Regions from separate parts of the Homo sapiens genome. Here regions 1, 2, 3, 4, 5 and 6 are each linked to region 7. Evidence: promoter capture Hi-C in 16 types of primary human blood cells and fetal thymus (Javierre and others, 2016). All regions are on one chromosome and are shown on one strand. The core of a region is centred on a gene start or on the middle of the fragment in contact, and the rest is flanking DNA. Distances in the headings are between cores, read along the strand shown.

Region 1 (3,492 bases), core at 790-3,289, 2.1 Mb before region 7:
ATGCTCAATGTCATTAGCTATTAGGGAAGCGCAAATCAAAAACCTGAGATACCACTTCATACTCAGTAGAATGGCTATGATCAAAAAGATAGATAATTTTGTGTTGGAGAGAATGTAGAGAAGTTGTAGCACTCATATACTGCTGGTGGAATGTAAATGGTGAAGTTGCTTTAGAAAATAGTCTGGCAATTCATTAAATGTTAAACATGGAGTTACCATATGGTCTAGCAATTACACTTTTAGGTATACACCTAAGAGAAAAGTAGATGTCCACACAGAAATTTATACACAAATGTTACATTATTCATAATAGCCAAAAAGGGGAAATAATGCAAATGTCCCTCAAGTGATAAATAAAATGTGGTATATTCATACCATGGTATATTCTGCAATAAAAAGTAATAAAATAACACATGCTATAACATGGATGACTTTGAAAACATGCTAAGTGAAAGAACCAGTTACAAAAGCTCACATATTGTATGATTCCAATTATATGACATGTCCAGAATAGGCAAATCTACACAAACAAAAAGATTAATGGTTGCTGAGGGATGGGGGGTGGAATGGGAGCACTGGGAGATGACAGCTGATGCAGAGTTTCTTTTTAGGGTAATAAAAAATATTGTGATGGATGCACAATTCTGTAAATATACTAATGGATTATATTAAGGTGAATTGTATGTTATGTGAATTATATCTTAATAAAGCTGTTAAAAATTTTTTAAAATTAAATCTCCAAAGGCATCAGCCAAAAAATGACCAAGTCCAGAAAATCCAAAAGAGATATCAGAGGATATTCCTATCTTGGGAGGAATTGCACTTATTAATTACTTGATATTACCTGGTTTGTCATTGTCTGGGACCCCCAAAATTATGAATTGGTCCCCTTTGGGAGAAACTTATAGTCAAGTAGGTGAGAAAAGCTTGCTCACTAATTTGTTAACTCACAATGCAGCTGGAGGTGCTTTGGAAACTCATGTCCTGGGGGTTGTTGGAGACATGGCTGAGAACCCTGCTTGTGATTGAGATTGAGGCATGGAAAGTGGATTACCACACAACCATACAATACATACACTAAGCAGTGCTGGCCACTATACTTCCAATTCTTTTGCAGAAGCACTAAAGAAACGGGTAAATTAATCTTAAGTTTTACATAATTAACATCTTTTAGTTTAACATTTAGGTTGAGATGTAAAATTCTATCTAATAGCAAAGCTGCCTGGTTATTCCAAGTGAAGATTAGGCTTTGGTATCTATAATCATGGGTGTTATATATTAATTTAATGCATAGTGTATGGTTAAAGTATCATTATACTGTTAGACTTGTAAGGGACTTTCTTTGCCCCAGCCTTCTTCATTTTGATTGCTTACTTTGTGTCACCACCTTTATATGCACAACCCTCCAATACACGAGCGAGATGTTTAGGCTCTGTTCCCAGAATGTACCTTCATTCTATGCACATTACTTTATCTCTACCTCTACCACCTGTGTACAAGTCACCATCATCGCTTGCCTGCCATACTTTCTAACTGGTCGCCCTGCTTCTATGCCTGTCTTCCATTCGTCTCACGGGAGCCACCATTATTATTATTGCTTTAAAACACAAACTGGTTCATGTTATTTCTTAAGACTCTTTGGTAGCTTCCCATGGCACTCAGGAAGAAAACCAAATCTTTATGATCCTGCCCTTGCTTGTTTCTCAGACTCAGCTTCTCTAGCCCCTCATTCGTCCACAGGGCTCAGATGATTCCAGCCTACTCCAGCTAATATTGCCCCACTATCCCCAATGCTAGACACTGCCACATTGCCTTATTCTATTTTTCTCATAGTACTTATCACTATGTGGAGTTTTCTTATTTGTTTGTTTACCTGTTTATGATAAATAGTTCTCGCTGCGTTTGTCTTGCTAATTGCAATTTGTTCAACCTTAACAACAGTGTCTGTCATACAGTCCAGGATTCATACATAGTTGTTGAATGAATGAATGTAAATGAACTGGATCCCTCAGATTGGAAACTGGAAATGAGTAGAAGGATAGGTAGTGTTCCATCTGAAGAGATAATAAGTTATGTCCTTCATAAGTATGTTTATTGGGGTATATTATTTTGTGAGAATTATTTGCATGAAATAATTTAGAACATATTTGCTTTGGAGTATTTGATATCAGCAAAACCTTGTGCCACAAAAATTAATGTCAAAATTAAGTGATCAAATTTTAAATATAAACCAATTTCAACCAAAAGTTCTAAATTTGCTGTCATTGAATAATTTAGTCACTTATTCTTACTCATAATGATAAAATCAATACTTTTCCCTCACAACTATGATTCATTTCTCATACCTGTAGTACTACTGTCTTTTCAAACACCTTAGCAAGGTCTTAATACAAAGTTATAGTGTCTTTAATGTTATTATCTTCTGCATATACTGGGTATTTCCAACAAAAAAGTACAACAATGTTTTCTTCAATATAATTGAAAATATTCTGCTCCTGTTTAAATGAAACTAGAGTTTCAAAATGCAGTTTTGTATTATATGAAAGAACTCTTGAAAGAAATTTTTAAAGAATTAGTATCTCCAGGATATTTAAAATCAGGTTCAACTCACACACAATCTTTTGGGAAAAACACTTATTGAGTATTTTATTCAAAAAGTAAATGCACATTCAAAGGGAAATGATCTGCTGTATCATAATATCTAGTGTTGGATCTTACATTCAATAGCGTTATTTCAAACAGATGAAAAGAGATTAATTAAATTATTTTTTTTTTACTTTAAAAGTTTCCTGCATATCAGAGCCAAGATGTGAAAAATTCATACTTAATTAGAAGTGCTGCTTCTTTTCCAAAGGTTACCAAACAGCATTTCAATAATGCTGGTTTCTATACAAAGTATTATTATAAAATAGTCCCTGAACTTGTGTATAAGACAATCAACATAATATTGTCATACATTTAGACATTTTTAAAAGCAGCTTTATTGAGGTAGAATTGATATACAATAAACTTCATGTGTCTAACATGTAGAATTTAAGTTCTGATACATATATATAACTGTGAAGCCATCACTACATTCAAGATAAGAAACATATCCATTCCTTCCAAAAGTTTCCTCTTGACCCATGGAATGGTTCTTATCTGTAACTAGATAAGCTTTTTCATCAGCATTCAGCACAACTTATTGAGTGCCCACCATGTTTTAGATAATGAGCAGGATATTGGAAATTGAGTGGTCAGCTGAAACAGACAGGATCCAGACTGTTATAGAATGTATGTTGCATCAGGAAGACAAATACTAATCAAATTATTATGTGAATAAATATAAAATTACCACGGTATATTGTACTCTGGGCAAGCTAGGCTGTATCTGTATATAATGATTGTATCCCCAAATATTTCTGGGCCTCCACACCTATATCAGAAACCCTTTAATGTTGCTTATAGGGCTTTTGCAATGTATCTAAAAATTTACACTAAACATTTTGTTTC
Region 2 (3,613 bases), core at 424-2,923, 2.8 Mb after region 7:
ACTTTTTGATTAAAATGAAGTTCTGTTTTCTAATTCCAAAATAAGTATATGTGTTAATGGTAAAAAAAACATGGAGAGTATAAAAACACTGAAAAAATTAAAATCTGCTATTAATAGACTATCCCAAAATAACCACTGTTAATGTTTTTAAAAATATTTTATTTGAAATTCTTCCATGTTTATATATTGTATATATTCATAGTTGAGATTATACTTGTATACAGGTCTAAATCATGCTTTAAAACTTTATAAACTTTAAGCATTTTATGAGTCATTAACAATTCTTTTAAGCAACTTTTTTTTTTTTTTTTTGAAATGCAGTTTCGCTCTTGTTGCTCAGGCTGGAGTGCAATGGTGCAATCTCGGCTCACTGCAACCTCCATCTCCCGTTTTCAAGCAATTCTTCTGCCTCAGCCTCCCCAGCAGCTGGGATTACCGGCATGCGCCACCGCGCCTGGCTAATTTTGTATTTTTAGTAGAGATGGGGTTTCTCCATGTTGGTCAGGCTGGTCGCGAACTCCTGACCTGAGGTGATCTGCCCACCTCGGCCTCCTAAAGTGTTAGAATTACAGGTGTGAGCCACCATGCCCAGCCTAAACATCATTTTTAACAGCTGTCTTATATTTCCATTAGAAATAGATTTAACACAATTAGATATAATGCAGTCAACAATTTCTCTATTTCTCAACATTTGTGTAGTGACTTTCCTTTTTCTTTTTTTTTTTTTTTTTTGAGACGGAGTTTCACTCTTGTGGCCCAGGCTGGAGTGCAATGGCATGATCTCAGCTCACAGAAACCTCCGCCTCCCGGGTTCAAGCCATTCTCCTGCCTCAGCCTCCGGAGTAGCTGGGATTACAGGCATGGGCCACCACGCCCGGCTAATTTTGTATTTTTAGTAGAGATGGTGTTTCTCCATGTTGGTCAGGCTGGTCTTGAACTCCTGACCTCAGGTGATCTGCCTGCCTCAGCCTCCCAAAGTGCTGGGATTACAGGCGTGAGCCACCGCGCCCGGCTGTGTAGTGACTTTCTAAGGCTGAGTTCAGTATATTTCTACTGAGGGCCAGAGAGGACATTTTTAGAGCATATTATCCTATGGGTCTAGAGAAGTAAGACAAGTAAGAGCAGGTTAAAGTCCCCCAAAACTATATGAATGTATGCCTTCATTGAGCATTATGAATAAAGAAACTCTTTGCTACATTCTACATTCAGAGTCAAAAAAATGCTAACTCTGTCTTAAATTCTTTTTTTTAGGTTACTACTGAAGTTGAAAATATTTTTTTCCTATATATTTATAGTATATGGCTTCTGTGTTTGTTCAGGCTTTTTTTCCAACTGTGCTATTCATGTGACTATTAAACCAGAAATGAATAATTTTTAATATTTATCTTATAAGATATTAATTAATTAATTAATTTTTGAGACTGAGTTTCACTCTACTGCCCAGGCTGGAGTGCAGTGGTGTGATCTCGGCTCACTGTAACCTCTGCCTCCTGGGTTCGAGTGATTCTCATGCCTCAGCCTCCTGAGTAGCTGTGATTACAGTTGCCCGCTACCACAACTGGCTAATTTTTGTATTTTTAGTAGAAACGGGTTTCACCACATTGGCCAGGCTTGTCTCAAACTTCTGACCTCAGGCGATCCTCCCACCTCGGCCTCCCGAATTGCTGGGATTACAGGCGTGAGCCACCGCACCTGGCCTATAAGATATTAATTTAAAAAATAGACCATTGTAGCCGGGCATGGTGGCTCATGCCTGTAATCCCAGCACTTTAGGAGGCTGAGGTGGGCAGATTGCCTGAAGTCAGGAGTTCGAGACCAGCCTGACCAACGTGGAGAAATCCCGTCTCTACTAAAAATACAGAATTAGCCGGGCGTGGTGGCATGTGCCTGTAATCCCAGCTACTCAGGAGGCTGAGGCAGGAGAATCGCTTGAACCGGGGAGACCGATGTTGCAGTGAGCTGAGATTGCGCCGTTGCACTCCAGCCTGGACAACAAGAGCGAAACTCCGTCTCAAATAAAAAAAAAAATAGATCATTGTAATAATGGAACTTGTTAGGGTGATACTGAAACAATGGGGCAGAGTCCACAGATTAGCTCAAATAGGCCATGAAAATATTAGGATAAGTACCTATCTGTAGAAGTCTTAGCTTACTTTATAGTTGAATCATACTAGTATATAAAATTCTGGCAAACATAATAATATTGTATTCAAATTGACTTAAATAATTTATGACATTCATAAATAATGACATAGTTTAGGAATTAATAAAAGCCTATCTATATATGCATGAATAAGAAAATGGTAGTGGAGCAAACAGCAGGATTATTGTATGTGAATTGCCACTAACTTGCTGTGTAATCTTGGGTAAGTCATTCTTTCCAAACCTCTGTTTTCTTCTGTGTAAAATGAAGTATTTAGTTGGATATTAACATTCTTTCTGGCTTTAACATTCTGAGTTTTTTGTTTAAGCTGTTAAGCATCTTTAAAATGCTTTTCCTACTTTGAAGAAATGTTGGCATCAAACAATTCATATGTATTCTTATAAAAGCAAGAATAGCTACCATTTGTTAATCTATTATATGTCAGATGTCTTACGTACATTCCCATTAACTCCTCACAACAACCCTACAGAGCAGATGATATCATTGCCATTTTCCTCATTGGAAAACTGAGGGTCATAAGAAGTCCCACTAGGGCTGAGTGGGAGAGCCAGAATTTGAACCCATGACTCGGAAATACTCTGTTCTTTCCACTGTGCTACTTACCTCTCTCTTGGACAAATGTGATGGCTTCTTTTAACCCAGAGTTTCTCAGCAGCAGCATTTCTTGACATTTGGGACTAGATAATTATTTGTTGTGAAGGATTGTCCTGTGTATTGCTGCATATTTAACAGTATCTCTGGCTTCTTTCCACAACCAAAAATATCTCCAGATATTAGCAAATGTCCTAGGGGGCTGGAAGGGGAGGTACAATTGGCCCCATTTGAGGACCACTGCTCTAATACAACTTAAGTCATCAGTAGTATGAGGACAAACATAGTTACTTTCTCCAGCAAAATCTTTAGGCCATTTTAAGGGTCAAGATGGAATTAACCAAGTATATCTCCAGCAAAGGAACCTACCTACTTCTTCATGCAATAATACTTATTATACATTGATTGTCCCTTATTCTCTTAAGATGCATCCCATTTGAAGAGCATTTGTTGGGATGCATGGTATAGCAACAAGAACCTGATTAATGTTTGTTAATTCACTGAAAAGTATTCGTTGAGGGCATGTTATATGCCAGGCATTGTCCAGTTATTGGTTAAAACAGTAAACAAGATGGCCTTGTAGGAGAAACAGGTATTAAATCATTTTAGCTCATTCTCCTTTATCTTCCTAATAATCTTGTAAAGATTCTGTTTAGAACCACAATCCAGTGTGTTTATCATGTTTTACATACATACACAACTTATCACATGAAGCTGGAGTTTGCCTTCCTTAGTGTGAATGAGTAAAGATCACACACTGGGAAATTTGTGTTCTTCTGCCAGTTCAAATATATATTTTGGCTCTGGTTTTTAAATGAGCACGTATCTGTGTGCTAGCTTCATTTTGAAACTTAACTG
Region 3 (3,137 bases), core at 299-2,798, 2.7 Mb before region 7:
CAGATGGGGACTGGAGATATCAGCCTCCTCTTGAAGACACCCCAAAACTTTACTAGTATCATGTAATAGGTACTAATGTCCTGAACAGAACATGAAAGACACTAACCATTAATGAAACAAATGGACAATTTGGATAAATTCATAATTTATTTACTTATTTTTCTTTCTTTTTGAGACAGGGTCTTATTCTGTCTCCCAGCTGGGCTGGAGTGCAGTGGGGTGATCACTGCAGCCTCAACTTTCAGGGCTCAGGTGATTTTCCCTCCAAGACTCCTAGGCTCAAGTGATTTTCCCTCCCAGTCTCCTGAGTAGCTGGGTCTACAGGTGTGCACCATACCCCGCTAATTTTTGTATTTTATTTATTTATTTATTTTTTGAGACAGAGTCTTGCTCTGTTGCCCAGGCTAGAATGCAGTGGCGCGATCTCGGCTCACTGCAAGCTCCGCCTCCCGGGTTCACGCCATTCTCTTGCCTCAGCCTCCAGAGTAGCTGGGTCTACAGGCGCCCGCCACGATGCCCGGCTAATTTTTTTAATTGTTGGTAGAGACGGGGTTTCACCGTGTTAGCCGGGATGGTCTCAATCTCTTGACCTCGTGATCCGCCTGCCTGCGCCTCCCAAAGTGCTGGGATTACAGGCGTGAGCCACTGCGCCCGGCCTAATCTTTGTATTTTTTTAGAGACAAAGTTTCACCATGCCGCCCAGGCTGGTCTCTAACTGTATTTTAAAAATACAGGCGGCCGGGCGCAGTGGCTCACGCTTGTAATCCCGGAACTTTAGGAGGCTGAGGCGGGCCGATCATGAGGTCAGCAGATCGAGACCATCTGGCTAACACGGTGAAACCCTGTCTCTACTAAAAATACAAAAAAAATTAGCCAGGCGTGGTGGCGGGCGCCTGTAGTCCCAGCCACTTGGGAGGCTGAGGCAGGAGAATGGCGTGAACGTGGGAGGCAGAGCTTGCAGTGAACCGAGATCGCGCCACTGTACTCCAGCCTGGCCGACAGAGCGAGACTCCGTCTTAAAATAAAAAATAAAAAAATAAGAAATACAGGCAGGGCGCGTGGGCTCATGCTTGTAATCCCAGCACTTTGGGAGGCTGAGGCGGACAGGCTGCTTGAGCTCAAGAGTTCCAGACTAGCATCGGCAAAGCAGGGAGACCCCATCTTTACAAAAAAAGTAGCCTGGCATGGTGTTGTGAGCCCATAGTCCCAGCTAAGTAGGGCAGAGGTAGGAGAATCACTTGAGCCCAGGAGTTCCAGGCTGCAGTGAGCCGTGGTCGTGCCACTGGACTCCAGCCTGGGTGAAAGAGCAAGACCCTGTCTCAAAAAGAGAAAGGAAAAAATTTAACATCAAGAACTTCCTTTCATCAAGACACCACTGAGAGAATACGACAACCCACAGAGTAGGAAAAGAGATTTGTAATACACATCTGTAACAATGGACTTCCTCCTAGAATAGAGAGGATAAAAAGTAGCAACACTTCCGCTTGCACCCGGACGGAACTTCCTGTCACGGAAAAGAACATCCTGTCACGGAGAAGAACATCCTGCAGAATTTCCTGTCACGAGGAACATTCCGCAGGAGGAAATGGAGGCTGAAAGGCTGCGACTCCTCGAGGAAGAGGCCAAGCTGAAAAAGGTAGCCAGAATGGGATTTAATGCATCTTCCATGCTCCGAAAAAGCCAGCTAGGTTTCCTCAACGTCACCAGTTACTCCCGTTTAGCCAACGAGCTGCGTGTGAGCTGCATGGAGCGGAAAAAGGTCCAAATTCGGAGCTTGGATCCCTCCTCTTTGGCGAGCGACCGATTTAACTTCATTCTGGCGAGTACCAACAGCGACCAGCTCTTCGTAGTGAACCAGGTCGAAGTCGAAGGCTCCAAGTACGGCATCATCAGCCTGCGAACTCTGAAGATCCCTTCGTTCCACGTGTACGTGCTCAGAAACCTCTACGTCCCCAACCGGAAGGTGAAGTCCCTGTGCTGGGCCTCGCTGAACCAGTTGGACTCTCACGTTCTGCTGTGCTTCGAGGGAATCACAGATGCTCCAAGCTGTGCAGTGCTGCTCCCAGCGTCGCGGTTCTTAAGTGTTCACACAAGAGTTAACCAGCCTGGCATGCTCTGCAGTTTCCAGATCCCAGAGGCCTGGTCCTGTGCGTGGTCCCTCAACACCCGGGCATATCACTGCTTTAGTGCAGGCTTGTCTCAGCAGGTCCTGTTGACCAGCGTGGCGACGGGACACCAGCAGTCATTTGATACCAGCAGTGATGTCTTGGCCCAGCAGTTTGCTAGTACGGCTCCTTTGCTGTTTAATGGCTGTCGCTCCGGGGAGATCTTTGCCATTGATCTGCGTTGTAGAAATCGAGGCAAGGGGTGGAGGGCCACTCGCCTGTTCCATGACTCAGCAGTGACCTCTGTGCAAATCCTCCAAGAAGAGCAATGCCTGATGGCATCAGACATGACTGGAAAGATCAAGCTGTGGGATCTGAGGGCCACTAAATGTGTAAGGCAGTACGAAGGTCACGTGAATGAGTCCGCCTATCTGCCCCTGCATGTGCACGAGGAAGAGGGAATCGTGGTGGCAGTGGGCCAGGACTGCTACACGAGAATCTGGAGCCTCCATGATGCCCACCTGCTCAGAACCATCCCTTCCCCGTACTCTGCCTCCGAGGACGACATTCCCAGCGTGGCCTTCGCTTCTCGGCTCGGGGGCATCCGGGGAGCAGCACCAGGGCTGCTCATGGCTGTCCGGCAGGACCTTTATTGTTTCCCCTTCAGCTAATTCTGCAGGTGGCAGCGCGGCCGAATGTGGATTTGACTTAAGGAAGTTAAGAGTATCTTATTACCGTTTCTGTGAGAGCATTTTAAGAGACGTGTTGTATATAGATCGCATCCATCCGGCTGCCAGGGGTAAGGTGTTAAGAGTTTTATGTGGAGACGTTCTTGTAAAGTTATTTCAGTTAAACTGTGGACTTAACTTGAAAGTCCTTTTCATAAAAGGTACCTGTTTCCTCTTGTTGAATGCCTTAGAACAGTTAACCACCTCCCCAACCCTTTTTTTTTTTAAATAATTAAGACTTTTCTAAGGACTGAAGATTGGCAAAAACTAAAATAAATTAAAGCAGCTTCTTTCACTAGTAGCC
Region 4 (3,606 bases), core at 894-3,393, 2.8 Mb after region 7:
CAAAATCACCTCTCCCCAGGATTGTTAAAATCACCTCTTGACTAGTCTCCCAGCATCAACCATGCTCCCTACAGTTTATTGGCAACAAAAAAAGCTAGAGGGATCCTGTTGGAACACAGGCCAGACGGTATCAGTCCTCTACTCAAAACCTATCTACATATTTGCAGTATACACAGGGTAACATCCAAAGTCTTCCATGACTTTATGGCTCTGATGTCACTTTTACTACTTCCCACTGACACCTCCACATTGTTCCCCCATCACAGTGCCCTGGGCACGCCAGTGCTTTACTGCCTCTCCAGCATAGCTGGCACACCCTTGCCTCGAGGCACTGCATGTTCTCTTTCCCTGAAATGCTCCATCCCCAGACACCCTTATGGCTCTCTCGCTCACCTACTTCAGATCTTTGCTTAAATGTCACATTCTTGGTAAGACCTTCCCCAAATCAAAAGCTATCCCTCTCCCCTACTCTGGCACTCTCTCTCCTCCTCACCTTGCAGTGCTCTTCATAGCACACATTGCCATTTGTTATATTAAATATTTTACATCCATCCAATAAGGAGCAAGGCTTTTTGTTTGTTTTGTATATTCCCTGCGCCCGAAATGGTGCCTGCCACATATTCAGTGCTCTATTAATATTTGTTCAATGAATAAGTGAATGAACAAAATATACAAAGTTCTGGGTACAGAGGGGTTGAAACTGAAGACTTAATTCACTTTGGTCCAACTTTTTCTAGTGATTGTAGAATTGATTTTTAATCCACATATTTCAAATTCTTTCTGCCTTCTAAGGTTGCTTTATCCCTCAAAATTCAAATAAAATAGCTAGAACTTCCTCCTGATTACAAGATTCACAGAGAAAGGAGGGGTTAATCATTTCCTAGCCAGAATTTGTGCTTCCTGTGAATTTTTGTTGTTGTTGTTGTTGTTGTTGTTTTGTTTTGTTTTTTGAGACGGAGTCTTGCTCTGTCGCCCAGGCTGGAGTGTCGCAATCTCGGCTCATCGCAACCTCCGCCTCCCGGATTCAAGCAATTATCCTGCCTCAGCCTCCCAAGTAGCTGGGATTACAGGTGCCCACCACCATATATGGCTAATTTTTTTGTATTTTTAGTAGAGACAGGGTTTCGCCATGTTGGCCAGGCTGGTTTCGAACTCCTGACCTCAAGTGATCTGCTCGCCTCAGCCTCTCAAAGTGCTAGGATTACAGGTGTGAACTACTGCGCCCGACCTTCCCATGAATTTTTAATCCTAACTGGTCATATAGCCTCCAAGTTTGCCATCTTTTCTCTGGCCTCTTCCTCTCAGGCAGACATTCCTTCCCAACTTTCCCGACCCAATTGATAGGGGCAGTGGTCAGAGCAGACTTCGTTACAGGTTGGAGGATAATACAGCAGAGAGATTTTAGTACTTTTTCATGTGCTAGCACTCATGAAAAATGATACCTGTACAGCCTCATGAAGTAAACTAACTGATCTCTGTGGGGCTTGGTATAAAGTTTCATTGTGTTTTCCTTGTATTACAGAATTGTTAAAAACTAAAATTTGAAGTATTGAGAAAAATATTAAACTTTGAGTTCATATACAATATCCTCATAAAACATTTAAAAATTCTTATCTTTTGCTTGCTTCAGTGAACATTTTTTCTTATATGTTTTCTAATTGAGATATAACTTACATACCATAAAAATCACCCCTTTTAAGTGGTTTAATTTCAGAACATTTTCATCACACCAAATAGAAACCCTGTACCCCTTCACAGTCATGCTCCATTCCTCTCTTCCCCCAGCTCCTGGCAACTACTACTCTACTTTCGATCTCTATGGCTTTATCTATTCTGGGAATTTCATAGAAATGGAATCAAACAATATGTAGACTTTTGTGTCTAGCTTCTTTTTGGGTGCATTTTCATATGAGGTTTTATGCTTAAAATGTCTAGTTACAATTTTTGATACTTTATAATGATTCATTCAAATTCTTGATAATTACTCTCAATGAGAAATTCTGTTCACTCAAATATGTGACAAAAGCTTATGAATGACTTTTACAACCATACCAGACTGTGCAATAATTGACATTATACCTAAAGATGCTAATAGTCCTTTTTTTTATTAGTTGAACCACATAAAGCTATCATTTTTATGTCAAAACTGGTTGAATATTGGCAGTCACAATATTCCAACTAATATTTTACTGGGTAATGTAATACTGGAATTCCTTGTGATAATGTGAATGGATTTTGAATCCAGTTCAGTTTTTTATGCCAAGCTTTTATTTGCAGAACATACTGTGAAAATAAAGAATAAAGATATGTGAAAATTAAGACAGCTGCATGGGACCTGGGGTGTCTAGAGCTGTGCTGGCCCAGTCTCCTCGCCAACCCCACTGAACATTCTCTCGGCCACTTGTTGTGCTCTTCGAGAGCCTGGAACACAGGCTTCTTCATCAGATCCATGAGTTTCTTATCCATGGTGGGCTCCAGACACCCCAGGTCCCATGCAGCTGTTGCAGAGGCTGATAGTGTTATCTTGCACTGTACCCATAGCCTGTTGCCTGAGCTCTGATTTGTGAGGAATACAGCACCATAGAAAGAGAAAATAGCTTAAAAGTGAAACTTTTAAGATATTACTTTCTGAAAGTCACTCAGCCAATACCTATTCAGGGAATTGGTCATGGGTCTTATTCCACATTTGATGCAAGATTACATATCATTCCTTAGAAGCTGAATTCCATCTTCTCTCTAGGTAGAACTATCTCCCATCCTTTCACCTCTCCAAAGTTTCCAAACTCCTGCCTTCTCTGGTCACTAGGGGAAATACACATTATCCAGAGAAATGTATACTTCTTTTTCTTAACTACATTTATTCAGAAAAAGCTCTGGTACCTATCTTTGTCTAAATAAGAAACTAATCATCTTTCCTAGACTAAAGGGCCATCATTTCATACAAGGAATTGTGCTACTGTCCTATTACCAGTGTTCTTGATATTATAAACAGAATCAATAAATAGTTGACGGACTTATCCAGAACTCTGGGGCCAGCCTGGATCTCTGCTAATCTGGATTTTCCCTTTCTGATATCCTGTGTAATCATTGCATGTTAAAGGTTTTTACAAGGTTAAAAGCCAATTTGTTCTCCTATGGACGAAAGGGACTCACCTGATACAAAGGGAAGGAAATGTATTTCCTCTTTAAAAAAAAAACGCACACATAAAATTAAGATCTATGTTTACAACTAGTAATAATAATGTAGATATCCTTGTTGTTTCTAGAAATAAAGAATTTCTACTGTCAACAAGGCAGTTATAGTCATAGCATGGTTTTACCCTATCCCAACAAAAATCATTTACTATTCACTTCCCTAATTTATTGAAAGCTGTGCTGCTTAGCCCACAGTAGAGAGCTCCATTAAGAATGTGTGTTCTCAAGCCAGCTCTTTCACCTGCTGTCTTGCCATCTTGGATAAGTTGCTCTAACTCTTTGTGCCTCAGATGTCTCATCTCTAAATGAAGAATGACCTCATAGGGATGATAAGAGGAATACACGAAGTCATAGCTGTAAACTTCTTAGTACAGTGTCTAACAGAAATGGTTCACTAGCACTCAATGAATA
Region 5 (3,467 bases), core at 39-2,538, 2.7 Mb after region 7:
GTTGTGAAATGGAAACGTTTATGCTCTGTTGGTAGGAATGTAAATTGGCACAATATCTATGGAAAACAGTATGGCGATTTCTCAGCCCACTTTTTTAACTTTCCCACATCCCCTTAAAGGACTGAGATGACAGAAGTTCCTCCAGACAGTCATACAGGTGGTAATACCCTTCCTTCTTTAGTAGGCCCAACAGCCCCTTCACCCAGCTATCTTCTTTGATCTCACTGTTCTAATCCCCACCCAAGGACTCCATGCCACCAGTCCCTAGGTTCTCTCTAGTGGCTGAGGGGGGAAAGAAAATCCCATGATGCCATTGTCCACTGGATCCAGACAGGGCTGAGAACTCACATTCCCCAGATACTACTTCCTGCTGGGCTTAGGAGAGGTAACTCATGGTTGAATTGGAATTGGAAAGGAAGGAATCTGGGTTGAATATAAGCTGTCATATTGCCACTAACCATTTCAACTAAGAAAGGAGTTTTGTATTCTAAAATCCATGAATGGGATCCATGATCTCCTGAAATTGCCATCAAATTCCATCTATCTATCTATCTATCTAGCTATCTATCTATCTATCATCTATCTATCTATCTATCTATCTATCATCTATCTATCTATCTGTGTATATTTTTCTATGGATTTTATTGGCAGGTTTTTATCAAATTCTCAAGGAGACATTTAGAATCAGTCTTACAGAATCATACCCAAACTTGGTAAAGTCCCCAATATGCCAATTAGTCCCATGTAGATTATTCTAAGTCCAATAGTAAAGAGGGTCTTAGTCTTTCAGACACTGGTGATTATATCTGGAAGCCAGTTTAAAGCAGTAAAGTTAAGACAGTTTTGTTTTCCTTTTTAAAAGCGGGGAAGGGAGTGGGGAAAAATAGCTTAAAATTTCTTACATTCTGCAAGGACAAGTTGATGGTGACCCTTTGGCACCTGGCATTCAACTTCTAAATATCAAATACATCATTTTTTATCTCTTGAAAAGGTATTACTGGCTTTAATCAAAAGTAGATCAGCATGGTGTCCACTACAAAAAGCTTATGTGGTTACCTTTGAAACACTAGCCCCTGCAATTCTAATGGAAAAAAAGATTTTTTGCTTTTTTATTTGAGGTGAACCTAAATAGAAAATGAATTTAGAAAGAGCTTCTTTGTCTCTAGCTGGTAGAGAAAAATATAGTCTTAAAATATTCCTAAAATTATTTTTAGATTTTTAAAATGTATCTGTACATTCTTCTTATGCAAGTTACTCTTATACATAATGATAACCCAGCTAGACCACTGCCAGGTGGGAGTAGAGTGAGAAGAGGAAGAGATTAGGCCATCAGCAAAGGGCCTTCATGCTGAAGACCTGAGGACAAGCCCTTCTATTACAATCTACAGTTCCCTACACATTCCCCTTAAATTAACTAAAGTTCACTCTCATAAGTATAAAGATATAAAAGCATTATCAAAAATTTATGTAGTCCTAAGACTTTCACCCACATATTAGCTATAATAATATTAGCTATAATCAAAGGATATTAATAAAAGCTTGCCAAATTTTCTAAAAGAAATATGTAGTTTTTAATGTCTTAATCATGTAATGGCTATATATAAACTTGGTCTTTCATTACACTTCATCTCTTTACACTATCTGTTATCCATTTAACAAATATGTGCTCAATTATTATTACTTGTTGTGCTATTGTTGTTGTTAAGTAGCACATAGCCAAAGCCATGTCCAGGTACCTAGAATTCAGCCATCCCCCAATTTAATCAAGGAATGCAAATTAGTAGATACAATAAGAATAAATTTGCAGCAATGACATCAGATATCACTAAACGATCCAGAGCTTAAGTCCAGTAAAGCCAGATGCACCCATTCTTTCAATGAAGCTACTAACAAACCATCAGAAATAGCACTCCACATGAGACCTGCATACCACCCTAGTTTAAAGCAATGCCACCTTACCACTTTTGTGCTGGGAATTTTTCCTCTAGCTCCCAGATGGTATTCAAAATGATTTCCTAAACTTTGTTTAACCGTGCTGTTTTTATTGGTTTCAGATGGCTATACCACTGATGACATTGAATTTTACTGGAATGGAGGAGAAGGGGCAGTCACTGGTGTTAATAAAATCGAACTTCCTCAATTTTCAATTGTTGACTACAAGATGGTGTCTAAGAAGGTGGAGTTCACAACAGGTGAGGTTGTTTCCCCCAAAATGTACTAGGGGTGCTGTGAAAGGAAGAAGATGGTTCCAACCAAATAATGGTCTGATTACTTGTCTTTTGTTTCTCAACTCAGGAGCGTATCCACGACTGTCACTAAGTTTTCGTCTAAAGAGAAACATTGGTTACTTCATTTTGCAAACCTACATGCCTTCTACACTGATTACAATTCTGTCCTGGGTGTCTTTTTGGATCAACTATGATGCATCTGCAGCCAGAGTCGCACTAGGTAATACATTCTCAGCACTGCAGAGAGCTAACAGATTTTACTTTCAAACAAATAACCAATATCAGGAATTATAGGCAAGGGCTCTCTTATAGCAAGCCAAAGAATTAGATCATCTTACAAGTCCCTGAATATAAAACATCTAAATGTAAGAATGTCCACAACGAATATTCTACAATGTACTGTCTTTTTAGCATTTTACCAAAACAAACAAACAAAAATCTTGGAATATATCTAGCACTACTTAAGTGTCTCATGGAATATATTTTTAAATTCTCATTACACTAGTTTTTACTAACTTTGGGATGACTTCCCCTTTAATGCCTGCTTTTAACAGTGAAGAACATATACAATGCACTATTTTCAAATGAATTTGGAGAAAGCTAAACCTTGTGACTAATAACAAGCTGTCAATTGCTGAGAAATACTATCCTTTGAATACTAACTAAAATTAAATCGTATCAAGCCACGTCTCCTTTAAATGGAGTTTATTACACTTGAATAAGGCACAGACAATTCATCAGCTATATTAATAATCTGTGGTCAAGACAGAATAAAAATGATTTCCTTCTTGGGGGAACAAAATTTAGAACTAATCCTGTCATGGTTAATTAATTGCTGAAAGCTGACAGGCTATATTTGAGACTTTAAAGGATTCCTTGGAAGGTTAGAATGTGTAAGGTCTGTCTGGTGAATCTGGGGATGTGCAAGTCTGTGTCATTATTTGATCCTACAGCCATTTCAGTTATCTCTTTCTGGGGCTAATTCTCACACACGCATGCACACACACACACACACACACACACACACACACACACACATCATTTCTGGCTAAACTAACATATTTCATCTCTTCACTTCGGAGACTGTTAAGCTGGACTAGATGATCAGCATACCCGTTCACAGCTATACTAATTGTCATCACTACAGCTTATTTGTAATGGCTGAATACATAAAGCTCACAAAGTCAAGTGTTTGCAGCCCCTTATCAATCTTTGAACAGCCTAAGATTAAAGAAAGCA
Region 6 (3,618 bases), core at 878-3,377, 2.3 Mb after region 7:
ATTTTTAAATAGTCATTCTGGTTACAGCTGAGATGCCAGGGAGGAATGATTGTGAGATTAGGTAAATAATGTTTTGGAGTGAAGAGAAGTATAGAGACAGGCACGACAATTTGCCCTTACGCATTATTGGTGAGTGTGGTTGCTTGAACTGGAATAGTGGCAGTGGAGATAGAAATAAGAGGAAAGATTAGAGAAATATTTAGGTGGCAAGATGGACATTGTTGGTATTTGTTAGCAAGAAATGACTCCCAGATTTTTGTCTTGGTTACATGCTTGAGTGTTGTCATTCATTAAATACAGAATACAGGAAGTTGGAGGGCAGAAAACTAGAGATGATCATTGTGGGACAACCAAAAGTGCCCTATAGTCACTTAGAACAGTGCTCTGTACCTAAAATATACATTTGAAATGATAAATGGTAAATAAGACGTGGGCTAGATGAGATTCTACAAAGAAATAATAGAAGAGAGTAGAAAGTTTGTGTTAGAATATAAGGAATGCCAACTGTAAAACTTCTAATATGGACTATCATTTCAGGAAAAAATAAAATATTTTACTTTTTTTTTTTTTCTTGAGATGGAGTCTCACTCTTTTGCCCCAGCTGGAGTGTAGTGGTGTGATCTTGGCTCACTGCAACCTCTGCTTTCCAGGTTCAAGTGATTCTCCTGCCTCAGCCTCCCGGGTAGCTGGGATTACAGGCTCCCGCCACCACACCCAGCTAATTTTTTTTTTTTTTTTTTTTTGTATTTTTAGTAGAGACGAGGTTTCACCATGTTGGCCAGGCTGGTCTTGAACTCCTGACCTCAAGTGATCCACCGGCCTTGGCCTCTGAAAGTGCTGGGATTACAGGCGTGAGCCACTGCACCTAGCCAATATTTTAACTGGACTTTTAAAAATACCAGCAGTATTAACTGTAGTTCACCCTGTCACGCTATCAGATACTACCTTTTTTTTTTTTTTTTTTTTTTTTTTTTTGAGACGAGTCTCGCTCTGTTTCCCAGGCTGGAGTGCAGTGGCGTGATCTCAGCTCACTGCAAGCTCCTCCTCCCGGGTTCATGCCATTCTCCTGCCTCAGCCTCCCGAGTAGCTGGGACTACAGGCGCCCACCACCACGCCCGGCTAATTTTTTGTATTTTTTAGTAGAGACGGGGTTTCACTGTGTTAACCAGGATGGTCTCCATCTCCTGACCTCATGATCCACCCACCTCGGCCTCCCAAAGTGCTGGGATTACAGGCATGAGCCACCGCGCCCGGCCAGATACTACATTTTGTTCACTCAATATTTTTGTATATAAATATAAAACAAAATATAAATATATTCAAAATATTTATTAATTAAATTTTATATAAATTATGTATCTATAAAAAGTTAAATATATGTTTTTGTATCAAAACATCACATTTACCACACAAAATATATACCATTATGTACCCATAATAATTAAAAGTTTTAAAAACACTACCATTATAATGTATTTGCCTTACAGGCTTACCTATATAATTTTAAAGAATAACACCTAAAATTAATGCATTAACACAGGTAATCAACACTATCTACCAAGTTTAATGTGTTTAATGTGCTTACATTAAGAACAACATCAATTTTAGTTTTTTTAAGAAGAAAAAAATAGAACTTGAGAGCTAATAAGTCCAGTTGTAGAAACCAAGTTTATGACCATTGACAAGAGGCCTCTGGTTAGCCAGATGATGTCAAAGTCGTATGATAGCATAAAATCCATACCATTGTGGATTATCTCCAAAGGTACTCTGGAATTTGATTGTAGGAGTGGAGAAGTTAATTGGTTGAGGTGATTTAAGTTGGGGGGTTTTAGGGCCTGTCCACTGGATAAGGAGAAGTGTGCCAAAAACATTATGTATTGACCACTGAGTGATTGAGGTAGTACTCAACAGGTGGTCTTCAGCCTGGAACGGAAATAAATAAAACCAAGAATGTGATGGTGGTCACCATTTGATAAGCAACTGAAAGTTTCATCCAAATTCAGTATTTTTTAATGGATGTGTATACTTTGAAAGCTTCCTTTTTAAAGGCTCTACTAAACAGTTCACAAAACAAGACATTCGGATGAGCTGTGCAACTCTGTGCAGATAAACTTTACCTACCACAGCTGACATTTTAACCAGGCTTCTGCTCACCTCTGGATAAATTTGGCTGTTTTGCTGCAGATTCTCAGCCAGCCTTTGCTTTGGTGCATACTCAAGGAAGCTTTCTCAATGAGTGGCACACACTGTCTTGTCCTTCCTTTAATAAGTAATGAAACAATGCAGGAGGAATTGCAATCACCAAAGTATTTCTTTTTAAAAAAATGTTTAAGATGTAATCAGATGATCATGTTATCTGAGCAACAAACTATAATAAAATATAGCCAGTAAAGCTAACCAGACCCATTTGCTGACTATTAGAGCAGTAATAACTTTTTACATTATTTAGTTCAGATCTCTGCCTCATCCTTGCTTAAGAGATGAGAACCTGAGGGGTTAAGTAACAAAATAAAGATCACATCTAGTCAGTTAATGGTAGTTAGGTCTCCTGCCTCCTACTCTAATAGTCTGTGAATGATTGCATAACAATGATTGTGTTGCACACTAATGAAGGAAATATTGTAAGCAATGCAGAGCTTACTTTATTTTGTCAATGCAAATAAATATGATCAACTCAAATGTTGCCACATTTCCCAGTAACTTTTATTATTGTGAAATTATCATGCCATCACCATATATTCTTATTATGTAGCAAAGTTCCTGAATCTTCCTCCCCAAAGCTGGAATGTTGTTGGCTCTGACCTAGTGTCATCCTGACTCCTGAACTTCTTAGCTGTTTCACTTTTGGAACATTGCTTCTCCACTCTGGGTTTCAGTGTCATTTGCAAAATGAGGACAATGATAGTGCCTATTTCATAGGATTTTTATCAAAGATGAAATGTGTTAATACATGTTAAAACTATTTGAAGAGCTCCTGGAACATAGTTAGCACTAACAAAGTGTTAGTTCTATTAATAACTCACACAGTGGATTTTTGAACCTGACACTTTTTTTTTTTAAACTCATTGCCACTGACAGAGAGTCCTTCTTCAGCTAGAGGTAAAAATCTTAAAAGTGTTAAAACATTAGAGAGTTAACACGTTGGTGTGAATAAGTTTTAGTCAAAGTGAAAGTGAAAGCATTAGACTAGTTGCAGTTTCAATGGTAGATGAAATTCAAAGGTCAAAGTACCTAAAAATTGAGAGGAAATGCAGCTGTGTGGGAAACATTAGCAGAAAAAGGTGGGAGGGCCCAGGGACAAACTTCAAAGACTTTCCTGTTTTGCCCAAGACCTCACCTTATCATTGTTGCTGCAAAAATAAGGCCACAGGTATGAGCTGGACCCAGACCTGTGATCCCACTCAGGACTGAGGGAGCTGCAGTAGGTATTAAACCCAGCTGTGAACTGTCTGGGCGGCAACTACAGAGAAAAATGGACAGCAAGAAGGATGTGAGCTGAACTGAGGACTTCTACCTTGGGTACTGCTTGCTTGGGGCCAAAAACTAGGTGCAAGAATGAATAAGGGTAAGGTCCCAAGTAGGGTCAAATGGTTTTGTTTGACCATTTGGGAAACAGAA
Region 7 (3,452 bases), core at 719-3,218:
ATCAGTCACCAATACCAAGCTTTTTATAACATGGTTTCAGCATTCCTGAGTTTTGTACCCACACACTTTACATAGAGTAATAAGTCAAATTTTCTAAATTAATGAGATTAAAAGGTCTTATTAAAATAAATGTATGGAATCTAAATGTCTTTAAGAAGGTAACAGTTTCGAATTCTGACACAACAACAAAAAATCATGGTCACCATGATCTAGAATTCTGGCCCGATAACAATTATTTATTTACAGAAAATAAATTACATAGTAAGTCATAAATTCAGTCCAACAACTGGACTCAGCCTCCACTTAAATATAATCCATAATCTAATGTCAAAAACAATTTTAGAGTTAAACCAAAGAATCAGAAAGAATTATTGGCTGTAATGAACATCAAAAGATATATTTACTTCTAACAAGAATATATGGCCAGCTGATTGTTAATAAAACGGAAAAAAAATAAGGTAAGGAGGACGAGAAGCATTAGAGCTTTCCAATGTCTTCTGCATCCTGGGCATGTTATTTTTCTCAGTTCAACACACGTTTGAAGACCTATTATATTCTAAGCACTATGCTAGGTTCTGTAGACACAAAAATGATTAACTCTATTGTCAAAGGGCTTAGAATCACTTGTCTCTGAGGTTGAAAGCATTATTCTCACTCTTCATATACAGAAAACTGCAACTACGAGAAGTTTATTGCTGACGTTAAAAAGTGGCCCGGGGAGCTGGCTTTAAAACTAAGTGTTTCTGACTCAAAGAGACATTAGCCAAAGATGTCTTACCGGTTGAGAATCACTTACGATGCTAGTTAAAAATACAGATTCTCAGGTCCCTCTCCCTAGACACAGTGTTTCAAAAGATCTGAAATGAAGTCCAAGGAATCTCTGCTTTTGCAAATTATCACAGGGGATATTCATAATCAGGTGAAATTTGTTAAGAACACCACACATCTCACTGAAACGAAGTTTAAGCAAGTCTCTCAGACCAAGGTACAGGCAACTTTTTGTTTTCTTAAACTCTCTGGAGGGCGCAGAGTCACCTCCAAAAGTCCCAAATGAATCCCTTCACCCAGAGCAAAGAAGAATTTCTTCACCACATTTAAGTTTTTAAGATTTGACTTTTCCAGTTTTTGCCAATCCTCAGAGATCCAAACTATTGTCGCCTTATGCAATTCTCTGGCATCACAAGACAGCATCAAAAAACAACAGAGCACCACCCTTTCCCTCGTCTTCCTTCAGGTGCTGATTCATTTTGGATGTGCATCGCTAGGAAAAAGGGCTGCTGAATATAAATCGCAAAACTTCAATGGTGGATGACAACTTCTACACCCGTGAAGTTACACAGCTAGTTAATGGCGGGGCCAAGACCAGAATCTACACTTGCAGAACCTCTGCTCTGAGCTTTTCCCTACTCAACCTGACCTGTCCTGAAAGCGTAAGGGTGGCCTGGCCGCGCGTGTGGGACCGACCCGAGGAGGGACGAGAGACAGCAAAGAAGGCTGTGGTTCCTGCCCGGGAGGCGGGGGCTGCAGATTCCCCTCAGCTGCGCGTTTGCCTGGCCCTCACTTGGCAAAGGACAGCGAATGCAAATGAGGATGACTGTTAGGAATTTTTAACGAGTGTAGAGAGAGGTGTCAAGAAGAAGCCGCGAGAGAGGAGAGGGCAGGGACGCCTTCTCCCGTAGGCACAAATCCGGAGAGGACAACCAGGTCCGCGAGTGGCAATACGGGAGACCCCACGCGCCCCCAGCCTCGAGGTTCCTGAGCACCCATTCCGCCCCGGCCCGGCGTCCCAGTCTCAGCACAAAGGCCGCACAGGGCGAAGTTGCCGTCGGGTCCCCCGACCCGAGTCCCCTTCTTGGCGCCCCCGCCGCACCCCCCGCTAAACTTACCGGCAGACCCAATGGTTCTTCGATGCTGGAACAGCGGGAACAAGCAACACCCAACCACCCGAGAGCGACCCCAGCTGACCAGTGGAGCGCGAATCCCACGGACCCGGATGCAGATAAAGGCGCAGGAAGGAACCGCGGCGTGGCTGGCGGGCGCTGCGCATGCGCACCGCCTTTAGGACGCCTGAGGTGAGACGCGAGGAGTTCGGTCCGAGTGCGGTGCGGCTGGGCGCTCTTCTTGCCTGGAAGATCGCAGTTTCTGGGTCATCACTTTACGCTACTTTCCCCTCCCCCCCATCTTTCAAAGAGGGATTTGCAGTAGATTCTTTAGGCTTATGAGATTTAGTATGTAAGACCGTAGTGCTCACACGTACTTTGTTGCTTATGTTGCTGTTTGGCAACATGAATATATTTGCCATTTATGAATACATTTCTCTCTCTACTCCAAGCTATTGAATGCATATTTGCAAACGCAATGACAGATAAGCGTCTTGTGTCAAAAAACTCATCAAAGTTTGCAAAAGGGCAAACAGTACCATGGGAAATCGGGAGCGTCTCAGTAAGAGAAAACACTATATAATAGGGTACTGGCTTTTGCTGAATGAGTCTAAGAAAGGGATAGGGGAAGCTGGAATCAGCTTTGAGCTGGGTATCACAGATGTTTATACAGGAGTGGGAAGGAATTGGGCTGTGGAAATTATTGTAAAGAAAGCAGCTATCATTCAAAAGGAGAAAAGTGTGTTGTGTCTTCACCATGTTCCATCAGGAACACTGTTCCATTAATAACACCGTTTAGGGTTCTGTTAGGAACAATACAATCTTGACTCCTAGCCAACTTAAGGTTCTGTTTCTGTGGAAACTACAAGTTAAAAAAATGTAAAACGCTGTGTCCTCAAACTCGTTATATGAAGTTTTTCACCTGGGTTGTAAATCCAGCCTGCTTCTTTGAATGTAATGACTCCTCTTGCATCCTTTAGTGAAGAGTAGGATGTTACATTCTCGTTGATTTAGCTTCAAACAGCAACATTGCTCACATACTGATAATAGACAGGTTTATTAGTACTATCGCCTTCAGTAAGTTTGCAAAAGCGATTTTTGGCCAGATTCGGTGACTCACGCCTGTAATCCCAGCACTTTCAGAGGTCATGGTGCATGGATGGCTTGAACCCAGGAGTTGGAGACCAGCCTGGGCAACATAGCAAGACCCTGTCTCTCCAAAAAAGATTGAGGTAAAATGATGAAGTAGTTTGTAGGCTATGCATAGAATTTAGGCTTTGTATTGTAGGCAATAGGGAGTCACTTAAGCTTTATGAATTGAAGATAAGAGACTAGAACATACGTGTTTTAGAAAGAATGCTGTAGAAAGGTGGAGACTGAATTACAGTCTTGAATTACAGATATGTGCCACATAAGGAAGTTTAGGTAAAGAATGGACTGGATATTTGGCAATGGTCCCATAAGATTATAACAGAACTGAAAAATTCCTATCACCTAGCGACATTGTAGTAAACGTAAAGTTGTAGAGCAACACCACTCGTGTTTGTGGCTACATAGGTGTAAACCTACTGT

What was found. Contacts are between HindIII fragments. The CHiCAGO score rates a contact against its expected background, and 5 or more counts as called.
Region 1: a fragment that was not itself captured here is called in contact with the fragment with the promoter of GNPDA2 in region 7 in 1 of 17 cell types (non-activated CD4 T cells); the score reaches 5.3 in non-activated CD4 T cells.
Region 2: a contact is called between a fragment that was not itself captured here and the fragment with the promoter of GNPDA2 in region 7, in 3 of 17 cell types (non-activated CD4 T cells, naive CD8 T cells and total CD8 T cells). The highest score is 6.4, in non-activated CD4 T cells.
Region 3: the fragment with the promoter of DCAF4L1 here is called in contact with the fragment with the promoter of GNPDA2 in region 7 in 1 of 17 cell types (non-activated CD4 T cells); the score reaches 5.7 in non-activated CD4 T cells.
Region 4: a contact is called between a fragment that was not itself captured here and the fragment with the promoter of GNPDA2 in region 7, in 6 of 17 cell types (M1 macrophages, naive B cells, M2 macrophages and 3 more). The highest score is 9.0, in M1 macrophages.
Region 5: a contact is called between a fragment that was not itself captured here and the fragment with the promoter of GNPDA2 in region 7, in 2 of 17 cell types (M1 macrophages and monocytes). The highest score is 6.9, in M1 macrophages.
Region 6: a fragment that was not itself captured here is called in contact with the fragment with the promoter of GNPDA2 in region 7 in 3 of 17 cell types (total CD8 T cells, M1 macrophages and naive CD8 T cells); the score reaches 9.5 in total CD8 T cells.

Annotation. Positions count from the first base shown.
Region 1 is chr4:42,661,627-42,665,118 of GRCh38, forward strand. No RefSeq gene overlaps it. Among named protein-coding and RNA genes, the nearest start is that of ATP8A1-DT, 5.8 kb to the left of the region's middle. The HindIII fragment of the contact is 2,230 bases long and covers 925-3,154 here.
Region 2 is chr4:47,495,443-47,499,055 of GRCh38, forward strand. All of the region lies in intron 1 of ATP10D (ATPase phospholipid transporting 10D (putative)), which reads left to right. Among named protein-coding and RNA genes, the nearest start is that of ATP10D, 12 kb to the left of the region's middle. The HindIII fragment of the contact is 3,976 bases long and covers 1-3,613 here.
Region 3 is chr4:41,980,208-41,983,344 of GRCh38, forward strand. It overlaps DCAF4L1 (DDB1 and CUL4 associated factor 4 like 1), which reads left to right and starts at 1,549. Exons shown (of 1, transcript NM_001029955.4): 1 at 1,549-3,137. The coding sequence starts at 1,586. The coding sequence ends at 2,776. RefSeq lists enhancers at 1,280-2,479, 2,039-2,811. The HindIII fragment of the contact is 3,961 bases long and covers 1-3,137 here.
Region 4 is chr4:47,478,720-47,482,325 of GRCh38, forward strand. No RefSeq gene overlaps it. Among named protein-coding and RNA genes, the nearest start is that of ATP10D, 4.8 kb to the right of the region's middle. The HindIII fragment of the contact is 238 bases long and covers 2,025-2,262 here.
Region 5 is chr4:47,401,264-47,404,730 of GRCh38, forward strand. GABRB1 (gamma-aminobutyric acid type A receptor subunit beta1) reads left to right here. Exons shown (of 9, transcript NM_000812.4): 6 at 2,055-2,192; 7 at 2,296-2,448. Among named protein-coding and RNA genes, the nearest start is that of COMMD8, 61 kb to the right of the region's middle. The HindIII fragment of the contact is 495 bases long and covers 1,042-1,536 here.
Region 6 is chr4:47,007,908-47,011,525 of GRCh38, forward strand. It overlaps a transcript of GABRB1 not described here. Among named protein-coding and RNA genes, the nearest start is that of GABRA4, 16 kb to the left of the region's middle. The HindIII fragment of the contact is 190 bases long and covers 2,033-2,222 here.
Region 7 is chr4:44,724,588-44,728,039 of GRCh38, forward strand. It overlaps GNPDA2 (glucosamine-6-phosphate deaminase 2), which reads right to left and starts at 1,969. Exons shown (of 7, transcript NM_138335.3): 1 at 1,887-1,969. RefSeq lists a silencer at 1,385-1,679 and an enhancer at 2,172-2,301. The HindIII fragment of the contact is 3,169 bases long and covers 18-3,186 here.